Regions from separate parts of the Homo sapiens genome. Here region 2 is linked to region 1. The links are contacts of gene promoters, found by promoter capture Hi-C in human tissues and cell types (Jung and others, 2019). All regions are on one chromosome and are shown on one strand. The core of a region is centred on a gene start or on the middle of the fragment in contact, and the rest is flanking DNA. Distances in the headings are between cores, read along the strand shown.

Region 1 (4,734 bases), core at 2,171-4,670:
AACCCTTCTCATCTTTCAAGCCTATAGTGGGCATTGCCAGTTGCCTTCTTATATCTGGGGCTCTGGGGGCTGCTGGCAGTTGCTGGGGGCCACATGTACCCATTTAAGGTTCCCCGAAGGCCCCCATGCCAGAGTTGGCTTCAACTTCTTGATCTGTGTGGAGTTCTTAGTCCTCGCAACAGCTCTATGAAGCAGGTGCCATGTTACCAATGAGGAAACTGATGGTCTCAGAGATGAAAACACACCCATCTAGCAAGTGGTGCAGCCTGGATTTCAACTCAGGCTCAATCGCAGGGCTGGTCATTTCACATCAGGACACGAGGGGAGCTGGGCTTAGGACAGAGCTACACATGGATGGAGGCTGAGAGAACCAAAGTGAGGTGTAGCTGTATCCTTAATAATGCTGTGAATCCCTGGATCATACTGCACCTGAAGCCCTTTCTATTGCTGGACACAATTACATTTCCTGAATTCTTTTTTTTTTTTTTTTTTTTTTTTTGATACAGTGTTTCACTCTTTTGCCCATGCTGGAGTGCAGTGGCGTGATCTCAGCTCATTGCGACCTCCGCCTTCCGGTTTCAAGCAATTCTCCTGCCTCAGCCTCCTGAGTAGCTGGGATTACAGGCGCCTGGCACCACGCCTGGCTAATTTTTGTATTATCACAAAATAATACAAAAGTAGAGACGGGCTTTCACCATGCTGGCCAGGCTGGTCTCAAACTCCTGACCTCGTGATCCACCCGCCTAGGCCTCCCAAAGTGCTGGGATTACAGGCATGAGCCACTGCGCCCGGCCTACATTTCCTATATTCTTAGAGCTCATTTGAAAGCAGTTTTCAGTCACTTGTTAACAGATACTTTAATGAATGCAAAGGCTCAGCTCAAAGTCCCCTCCTCCAGGAACATCTCTTCCTTAAAGGCCTCCCCCCGGCCCCCGCCAGACTCTCCCAGGCCCACCATCTAAACATCTTTGCAGGGCTGCACCTGCCTGGCTTGCTCTGTCTGCTTCTCCCTGTGGGATGCATCTCCAGCATCCTCCCTGTCTGGTTCTGATCTTTTCTGGATGTGCTCACTGCTCTCTTGCCAGCCGCTCCCAGCTGGGCCAGCCTAGCCTGCTAGGAGGGACAGGGCAGAACTCCTACAGCCCTACTTCCAGGGGCACCAGCCTGCAAACAGCAAGCTGACTCACTAGGAGAGGTGGGTCATGGGCAACAAGGGCTGGTGGCCCAAGTCACTGGGCTACAAAGGGTCTGGCCTCAGGTGCCCAGAACATCTTTCTTAGACGTGCTAGCCAGGACAGCCTTGTCTCCCCTCCTCTTTCCCTCTTCAGATCTTGCCTGGCCCTTACCTCCCCTCATCCAGAAACCCTCCACTGTCTGTTCTGCCCCACGTGGGCACCTCCTCCTCTGAATTCTAGCCACCAACTGTCACAGGAATATAGCACGTTACAGTTTGCAACAGATTTTCACTTCCATTGGACCCTTGCTCCTTGGAACAGCCCTGAGATGTGGGCTGCACAGAAACCCGCATTGCGTGTTTGAGGAAACTGAAGCCCACAGAGATTAAGTGACTTAAGTACACAGAGCAGAGCCGAGACTTGAACTCGGCTTTGCCGATGGCCAGCACTGGGCTACTTGTGAGTTAATATTTAATCACATACAGGTTGAGGAGCCGTTATCCGAAATATTTGAAACCAGAAAAGTTTTGGATTTCGGACTCTTTCAGATTTGGAGATACTTACAGAATACCTGCCAGTTGAACATCCCCAACCCAAAACTCTAAAATCTGAGATGCTCCAATGAGCATTTGCTTTGAGCATCATGTTGGTGTTCAAAATGTTCCAGATTTTGGGTTTCAGATTTTTGAAATCCAACCTGTGATAATTAATTTTAATGACTGCGGCTGCTACTCTTATAATCACCACTGCTACAACTGCCACCACCACCACCACTGCTACCACTGTAGAACCAATGGCAGCAGCAAGGTCTGGTCCTGTGTGGGCCCCTTGATAGCAGACCTCACCCCAGGTAGGTGGTGTCTCCATATAACAGATCAGAACACTGAGGCCCAGGAAGCTGAGGGGACGTGACCAGTCTCCTGTTTGCCAGGCCTTCGTGCTTAGGCCAGGGGTTATGGAAGATAAGAACGGGTACTCGGCCGGGCGCGGTGGCTCACGCCTGTAATTCTAGCACTTTGGGAGGCCGAGGCGGGCAAATCATGAGGTCAGGAGTTCGAGACTAGCCTGGCCAACACGGTAAAACTCTGTCTCTACTAAAAATACAAAACATTACCTGGGTGTGGTAGTGGACGCCTGTAATCCCAGCTACTCAGGAGGCTGAGGCAGAATTGTTTGAACCCAGGAGGTGGAGGTTGCAGTGAGCCGAGATAGTGCCACTGCACTCCAGCCCAGGTGACAGTGCTAGACTCCGTCTCAGTTAAAAAAAAAAAAAAAAAAAAAGAAGGGGTACTCATTCTCCCCAGGAGACTGTCAGGGCTCAGGGATGCCAGGCTGGGGACCTCTGGGGCTTAAGAAGTGGAGCCCAACATCCCCAGGCGCTAAGCGTGGAGCAGGTGACCTGAACCAGGCTGTGTCCACCTTCCCTCAGGAAGGCCTCCACGATAGACCAGAGGAGCCCTTCCCTTGCTGCAGGGCCAGAGCCTCGGTTTCTCCATCTGCACATGAAACAGCCTGTCCCCAGGGGCCCCGCTGCCCCTGGAATCTGTGTGTGGGGTCAGATCTCTGCTCATTTCTCACTGTTATGAAGGGAGAAAGAACCGGCTTATGATCTAGGGCTAGGCCACAGGACATAAATCCCCAGGGAGCTTGTTCAAAATAAAGACCCCCAGTTCCCAGGGCCCTCCCTGCCTCCGGATTCTGATCCAGCAGCTCTGGGGTGCAGCCAGGGAATCCCGGGGAGCCTGTTGTTCAAGCAGACAGGAGTCACTGACACCATGGAGACTGGGACCAGGAGGCTGATGGGCCACACCCAAGGACTCCAGCTGGGCAGCAGCACAAAAGCCCAGTTACCTGTTAGAGAGAATTTCCTCCTCCTCACTTTGCAGATGGAGACGCCATTACCCAAAGAGAGAAACGGGCTTGGTCAAGGTCTCCAAGCAAGTCTACCCCAGGCTGGGAGGAGGACCACAAGGATCACTAGGCCACCAGCTGGGACCAATGCTGACACCACAGGGACATGCTGGACCCCGGTTCCCACCCCAAGCACCAACCCTGAGAGCCCACTTGGCCAACACCACCACAGGTCCCCTTACCCATATGCCCACGGCCACATTCAGAGCAAAATACACAGTGATGACGATGATGTCAGCCACGCTCAGCTGCGTCCCGGGAGTGTGGAGGTCGCTGGTGGAGTTGGCGGCCATGGCTGTCCTGCCGCAGGCACTAGGTATGAGCCCGAGGGACTGAGGGGCAAACCAGGTCAGAAAGGGTTTCCTGGCAGGGAGCTCATTGATCATTAAACCAAGCGGACAGTGGCATCTCCAGCCCATGATGTGGCTGCATGCAGGGCAGCTGCCTCACCATGCAGTTCAGCTTCCTCACCCCATGGTGGGGTGCAGATCCCAGAGCGCAGGAGTCAGGGAGCCTGGGAGAAGCAAGTGGGAGGAGGAAAGGAAGGAGCCTCCTTGAACTCGGAGGGGGCTTGGGGAAAATGAACCGCATTTAGTGGACCCGGAGGCAGCCCAAATAGTCCCAGAAAGGCTGGGTTGCTTAATGGGTGGCTTCACCTATATCTAATTTGTATAAGAAGCATAGAGCGTAGGGACAACCGCCTCACCTCTGAAGATACTGCCGTGGCGGGCAGCCATGTCCTCCCTTGGCCATCGGGCTGTGAGTGGACTGAGCAGGGCTTGGGAGGGGGACACCTGCATTATGGCTCACGTCCAGCCAACACAGCCCAGGCTCAGAGGCAGCCCCATGTCGGACAATAAAGTCCTGCTTCCAGCGTTTCTGCTTTCTTTTTCTAGACCCGTGAAACAGTCCCAGGCCCCTCAACTTGACCATGCATTCGGCCCCCACCCCGGGCAATGTCTGCCTGGGACCACAGAGGGACCCAATATCTGTCACACACCAAGGACCATGCGTGGCTGTTCTGCACATGATCCCATTTCACGGACCATGCGTGGCTGTTCCGCACATGATCCCATTTCACGCTCACAGCAGCCACGCAGAGTAGGCAATGTCTCATCCTAGTCAAGGAAATGGCCATCCGCCATTACGCAGCCATTGAAGGCGCAGAGTAGGATTCAGTGCAGATGTGGCCCCACCGTCTCCACCGCAGTGACAGTGACGAGTTCCATCTGGATTCCATCAGAGTGGGACGCTCGCTCACTAATTCTATCAGTGTACACAGCAGGGCTGGCCGGCAGTCTCACGCCTCTGCTCAGTGACATGACTCGTGACTTTGCAAAGCATTTGCAGTTTAACCAGACATGCAGCACTTCCAGAAGTGTTAATGAGTGAGCGGCTGCCACCAGGAACACGCTGGCCTGCAAACCCAGCCAGCCTGTTACTCAATAACCCTGAGGTGCGGGTAAAAATTAATCCCCTCGGCCAGGAGCAGTGGCTCATGCCCTTGGGAGGCTCATGCCTTTGGGAGGCCAAGGCGGGTGGATCACCTGAGATCAGGAGTTTGAGACCAGCCTGGCCAACATGGCAAAACCTCGTCTCTACTAAAAATACAAAAATTAGCCAGACATGGTGGTACGCACCTGTAATC
Region 2 (6,189 bases), core at 3,353-5,852, 150 kb after region 1:
GAAAATCCCTGCAGCTGGCCATAGTGGTGCCACCGGGTGGGAAGAAGGCAGGAGAGGAAGCGCAGAAGGATCATTAATCATGAGAGATGATCATCTTAAGAGAAGTGAGGAGGTGGGAGACTCATGGAGAGACTGGGTGAAGCCCATTCCCGTCCTGTGGTCTTAACCCATTTATTTTTATTATTTTTATTTATTTATTTTTTGAGATGGAGTCTCGCTCTGTTGCTCAGGCTGGAGTGCGGTGGCACGATCTTGGCTCACTGCAAACTCTGCCTCCTGGGTTCACTCCATTCTCCTGCCTCAGCCTCCCGAGTAACTGGGACTACAGGTGCCTGCCACCACACCCGGCTAATTTTTTGTATTTTTAGTAGAGACAGGGTTTCACCATGTTAGCCAGGATGGTCTCGATCTCCTGACCTCGTGATCCGCCCGCCTTGGCCCTCCCAAAGTGCTGGGATTACAGGCATGAGCCACCATGCCGAGGTCTTAACCCATTTATGCTGTAGGCTGCAATTTTGTGAATTTTTGCATGAGTGAAAAATCAGACCTTGGTGATGACCTTGAGCAGTAGGATATAAATAACTCCTACATGCTTAGTGTTCCAATAATGGAACACTAGGCATAAGTAGGTTAACACAGGATCAAACTGGCTTTCACATAACCTCTCCCTGTTTTGTTTTAAGGAAGTAGAAACACTGCTAGAAAAAGACTGGGCTGACTCTCTTGGATGGATGCTAAAGCTCTAAGGTCTTACAAACAATCCAAAGCAGAAGGGAAGAACCAGAAGAGAGTGCACAGCCAACCAGCAGACAAGAGCCCCACTAAGGAAGAGAACGCAAAACCAGGCAGCCCAGCCAAGAGAGCAAGAGCCTGGCAAGTTCTCCACATCGCACATCACACCTGTGTCTTCAGGCCACCAAACCCAGCACTGCAACTCCAGCTCAGAGCAGCAGCCACGTGCCTCAGACATCAGGAGAAGGTGGTCAAGGGGGATTCACCCGCACTAAACCAGCAGAAAGAGAAGGGCTGGACAGGACTGTCACTGTAAGGATAAGCAAAATGGATAAGGAAAAAGGGAAGTGCATTTATGCAAAACTATAGTGAAAAAAGAAAAAAGAAGCATAGTATACAGAAGATAGGTGAAGAATCTACTCGAAAAGAAAAAAACCCCACCAAAATAAAAGCATTCCTCGGACTATTTCACCCTACAGAAAAACCTAAAGAAAAGAACTCAAAAAGCATGAGGGTGAGATAACAGGAGATGAAAACGGAGCTGACAAAGCTAAGGAAATACAGAGAGAAGCCTTAGCTGAGCACTTAAAATAGTTACTGTTCTCTCCTCTGCACTCTCTACCCCATTACTTTGTATCATTAACTAACATCCCCTGTTGTATTTTTTACTGTTTGTCTACCTTCCACTAGAACATAAGCTCTACTGGAGCAGTCAACTTGTTTACTGTCCCCTAACTTATCCCCCTGTGTCTCCAGACAGCTCTGACATAAGAGTGAACTCTTAAAATTGCTGAATAAATAAGGAAAAGATGAATAATTAAAGCAACAAGAAAATAGTAGATGAGAACAAATAAAAATGATCCAACATAAACGTAACTGGTACTTCAAAATGAAAGGTCAAACCATAGAACATAAATAAATGCAAAGATTTAACAGAAAAAATTTTCCTGATTCCAAGCAAAACTTTGGTCTGCCTGTCAGAAAGGCACAGACTCCAGAAAACTTGATATGGAAAGATAAATACAGATACATCTGGGTTACATGAACTAAAAAAAAAAACACCTTATGAGGAGAGATTACAAAGGTTAAGTAAGCCTGGCCTCAGACTTCTCCAAGATATTCAGTGAAAGAAAATGATGGAATAGCATCTTCCAAAAAGAAACAAACTGTGACCCAAGAATATTAATCCAGCCAGGTCATCATTTAAGAATAGTCAATAGGCTCATATGTTTAAACATGAGTCAAAAGAAAATGTAGCCAACCAATAAGTAAAAGGAGAAGCTGCAGTAAGACTGGTGATAGGCAATGAATCGACTTTTTTAAAAAACAGATCAAAGACTAAACAACCAGTAAGAAATATGTTTTCAAAAGATAACTATTATAAAACTTGGTAACACAAAAATAACATTGGAACAAACAAGAGAGAAAGGAGGAAACTCATAGGAAGGAATATGAGTGTTTATTTTCTTCCCTTTCTAAACAGAGTCTATTAAGTCAATAAACAGGTTTAAGTACATTAATTAATGTTACAAAGAAAACCACTAGAAGGACTAAAATAAGACTATAATAAGCAAAACTCTAGAGGTAGGAGGAGGGAGAAGTTAAAGAAACCATATTAGCGTAAAGTTTCCCATTTTCCAGAGCAGGAACTCCATAAATACTGAATAAATTTCCTAATTCATGAAAGAGGGTAATGATATAAACATATAAAGTAATTAAAGGTAACTACCAGAAGAACTGAAAAAAGACAATAAGCTTCCAATAAGCTTCCAAATCCAAAGAAGGAAAGTATGAATGTATGAGCACACACAAAGAAAAAAAGAATCTATATCGCAAAATAGGACTAAGAAAATACTACAAATTAGGAGGAAAAACATAATTAAGGCCAAAATATATCTGATATCAATAAATATTGTGTGAAAATTCACACAATATTTATTCATATCAGATATAAGATAGAATAAGAAAAAATAATATGAGATATAAAAAAGAGTAAGACTCACAAATTGGGTCAAGTGACAAACTATATTTTCCAAAGACAGCAGCAACAATATCTCCTCTTCCACAAAGTCTTCTAGCACCTTCTTATTCCTTATCAAGAGCAGAGCCTAATTCCCATTTCCTTGAATGTGAGTGGGCAGCAGAAGCGATGCTATGACATCTTAGCTAGATTGTAAAAGCTTGCGAGCTAGAACACCCCACAAGTGAAGTACTGGGCTGCCACGTAAGCAGTCCCACCACCATGAGGCCACCATGCCATGAAGAAGCCCAAACGAAGGCACAGGGAAAAACATGTGGAGAGGCCATGGGACCTCATGAAGAGGAGATGGCTCACAACCCCCATCATTCCAACTACTGTCTGACTACAACTACTCAAGACCCCAAGCCAGAATCTCCCAGCAGAGCCCTTCCCAAGATCCTGACCCATAGAAACTGTGAGATAATGGCTGTTGTTGCTCTAAGCCACTATGTTTTGGAGTGATTTGTTAGGCAGCAATAGGTTACCAACCATTATTTCCAGAAAAGACCACTAATAATCTAGAAAACTGGTGGGAAGGGGTTTTTTAGGATCTCTTCTCCAGTATTATAGAGAAAGGTAAAGTTGGGAAGCAAAACTTGGGAATTACATGATGAAGCTGCCTATTCAAGATAGGTCCCTAATGATAAGGACTCAGTTGTAGTTGTTGCTTCCTATGATTACCATCAGACATCTTAATGGATTATTTGAAAGTTCTACACTGATACTCACCAACCACTTTACTCTGAAGGAGAAGAGTGCACTAAAAGCAAATATCACCCACAGTACTGGACAGGCAATAAGTCCCAACCAAAAGATTCTTGATTCAGCCTCTGACACAGTTTTATTCTCTTGAGAGGACTCCTATAAAAGAACATAAATTCAATTATCATGTTGTGAAATTTATCAATAAAAAGTTCAACATGTTTAATAAAAAACATATTACCCACAAGTTCAAATATTAATACACACAGCCCAACTCCTAAGTTAGAACCCAAAAATACATGACTATCACTCTTGTAATTTTAGGAACTGATCTATATTAACTCAAGAATTTTGCATTTTCAGGGCAGGATGGATGGTTTACCACAACTCATGACAGTAAAGAGTGGTCTCTGATAGGATTCTATTCAATTCTTCTTGCACTTGTACTATTTATTCATAAGGAAGCTCTAAATGATACCTTTCCTACCAATGATCAAGGAAATCACAGTTATAATCATTCTGGAGACTAAAAGGTCAAATTAGGGTCCAGAGGAAAAAAAAAAAACGGAATCAAGGGATTCTGGACAATAATCAAAATGTCTTAGCAATACCCAGGAAGTTACAAGGGTGGTAAGTTGTTTCCAAGGTAGATTCTATAATATAAAAGAATACAGGCTCATTGAACACAGTGCCACTTTCTTAAAATAACTTGTCAATACCCTTGGTGTACTGTCGCCAAGAATTTGGTCCTCTGCTTCCAAAACTTATTTCCACAAGGAAAGTGAATATTCACTATAGTGTAGCAGGCTAACCCAAAACAGACCAGGATCCCCAGGGCTCCTGAAGGCAGAAGCTTAGGAATAGAGTGCTCCGATCAGATATTCTATCCAGCTGCACTCCTCCTCCTTTTTCCTGCCCAGAAATGAAAGACGACCACAGGAGCAAAGACAGAACAAGATGTTAAAAGCAGTTATCTGCTGAGCATAGAGGGATTTATGGAGACACTAACAAAGGCAACACAGAGATCTTTTATCAGCAATCCCTGACAGGCAGCTTAGCACACTGTATGAACTCAGACCCAGTGTCTTCCCTCAAAGGATTCTGTTCTGTATATTGCTTGTTTCTGGTCTGAACTAGACAGAAAAATGCATTAAATTCTAGAAGGCCATCTCCTTTAGTGCTGACATGCCAAGTGATTTGGTATAGTGTTTTTAATTCTGAATACTTCATCTTCCAGTATTTAAATATAGTCTACAAATAATTTAGCTGATAACATTATTTAAAACAAAAAAGGCACTTTACCTTTCTAGATTCAAACACCCAATGGCTCTTTCCATCTTCATCAATGTGATTCCACCAACGTAGGCCAACCATTAGTCTACCTGTGACATTCTGGTGAAGATTAATATAAACAGGCACATTTTAAAAGCATTATTTAAAGATCTATCACAAGCTCCTATCTTAGTGTAACATTTCACAAACAAAAACCTTCAGCTTTACCTCCATAATATCCAGTTAGCAAAGACTACTATGTATCAGGCCTGGCTAAGTGATTAAGTAAAATGGTAATGGCAGGACTAATAGGGGTAGAGGTGACAGAGCAAGCAACAAGTCCACCCATAAACATTACACCTTCTCTTTTCCCTCATGAACAATTTGCCCTTTCTCCAGTTCCCTAATTTTCCCTAAACCCCTTGCTATTTGGTTACTGTGACCTACTTTACATCCTGACTATAGCTACATGTATTTTACAACTACATATCCCTGAAAATGATTATAGACACTGGCCTTCAGTCAGTCTCTCAAGTTACCAAGCTCTTTTCCTACTTACTAAGGTAATAAATTAGTTTGATAGCTTTCCTAATCTTTATTTACTCAACAAATATTTACTGAGCATCTACTATGTGCTGGTAATACAACAGTGACTAACAGATACCAACTCCTTCCTCAGGGAAAGAGGTGAAGAGAGGCAGACAACCAATGCACAAATGTACCATTACCAACTGAGTTAAGTCCTGCAAGGGAAAAGTGTGAGATGCTTGAAGAGTATAACAGGGAAATTGGATCTAGTCTGGGTATCAGAAAATGACTCTCTGAGGAGTCAACATTTGGAATGAAATATAAAAGATAAATAAGAATCAACAGTACCATGGATGTTTAATTAATGGTGTCCACTAATAGATTCAGTGGTTCTGTGAACCTCGATGGGTTAAAAAAAAATGTTACCTTCATTTTCATTAACCTCTGGCTAAAATTTAGCATATCTTTAAATTATGAATGTAGACAACAAACTATGAATGTAGGTAAAATTAAAAACACCCTGACACAATAGAAATCACAGGCATTTTTTTATTTTGTACTATATTTGCTGCAGTTACCTCAAAATATTGTAGTTTTGTTTTTTGTTTGGTTTTGTTTTTTGTTTTTGAGACAGAGTTTCGCTCTTGTTGCCCAGGCTGGCATGCAACGGGGCGATCTCAGCTCACCGCAACCTCTGCCTCCCGGGTTCAAACGATTCTCCTGCCTCAGCCTCCCAAGTAGCAGGGATTACAGGCATGCGCCATCATGCCCAGCTAATTTTGTATTTTTAGTAGAGATGGGGTTTCTCCATGTTGGTCAGGCTGGTCTCGAACTCCCAACCTCAGTGATTCACCCGCCTTGGCCTCCCAAAGTGCTGGGATTACAGGCGTAAGCCACCACGCACGGCCTCAAAATACTATTTATGCTCACCACTG

The links. The method cuts DNA at HindIII sites, captures the fragments that hold promoters and counts their contacts. A contact is called where the count stands out against the background at its distance.
Region 2: a fragment that was not itself captured here is called in contact with the fragment with the promoter of SLC5A10 in region 1 in 3 of the 25 tissues and cell types used here (dorsolateral prefrontal cortex, liver and spleen).

The regions. Positions count from the first base shown.
Region 1 is chr17:18,950,851-18,955,584 of GRCh38, reverse strand. SLC5A10 (solute carrier family 5 member 10) reads right to left here and starts at 3,420. Exons shown (of 15, transcript NM_001042450.4): 1 at 3,269-3,420. The coding sequence starts at 3,379. The HindIII fragment of the contact is 13,514 bases long and covers 1-4,734 here.
Region 2 is chr17:18,796,236-18,802,424 of GRCh38, reverse strand. TVP23B (trans-golgi network vesicle protein 23 homolog B) reads right to left here. Exons shown (of 7, transcript NM_016078.6): 4 at 4,757-4,846; 5 at 3,482-3,613. Among named protein-coding and RNA genes, the nearest start is that of TVP23B, 18 kb to the right of the region's middle. The HindIII fragment of the contact is 3,794 bases long and covers 2,706-6,189 here.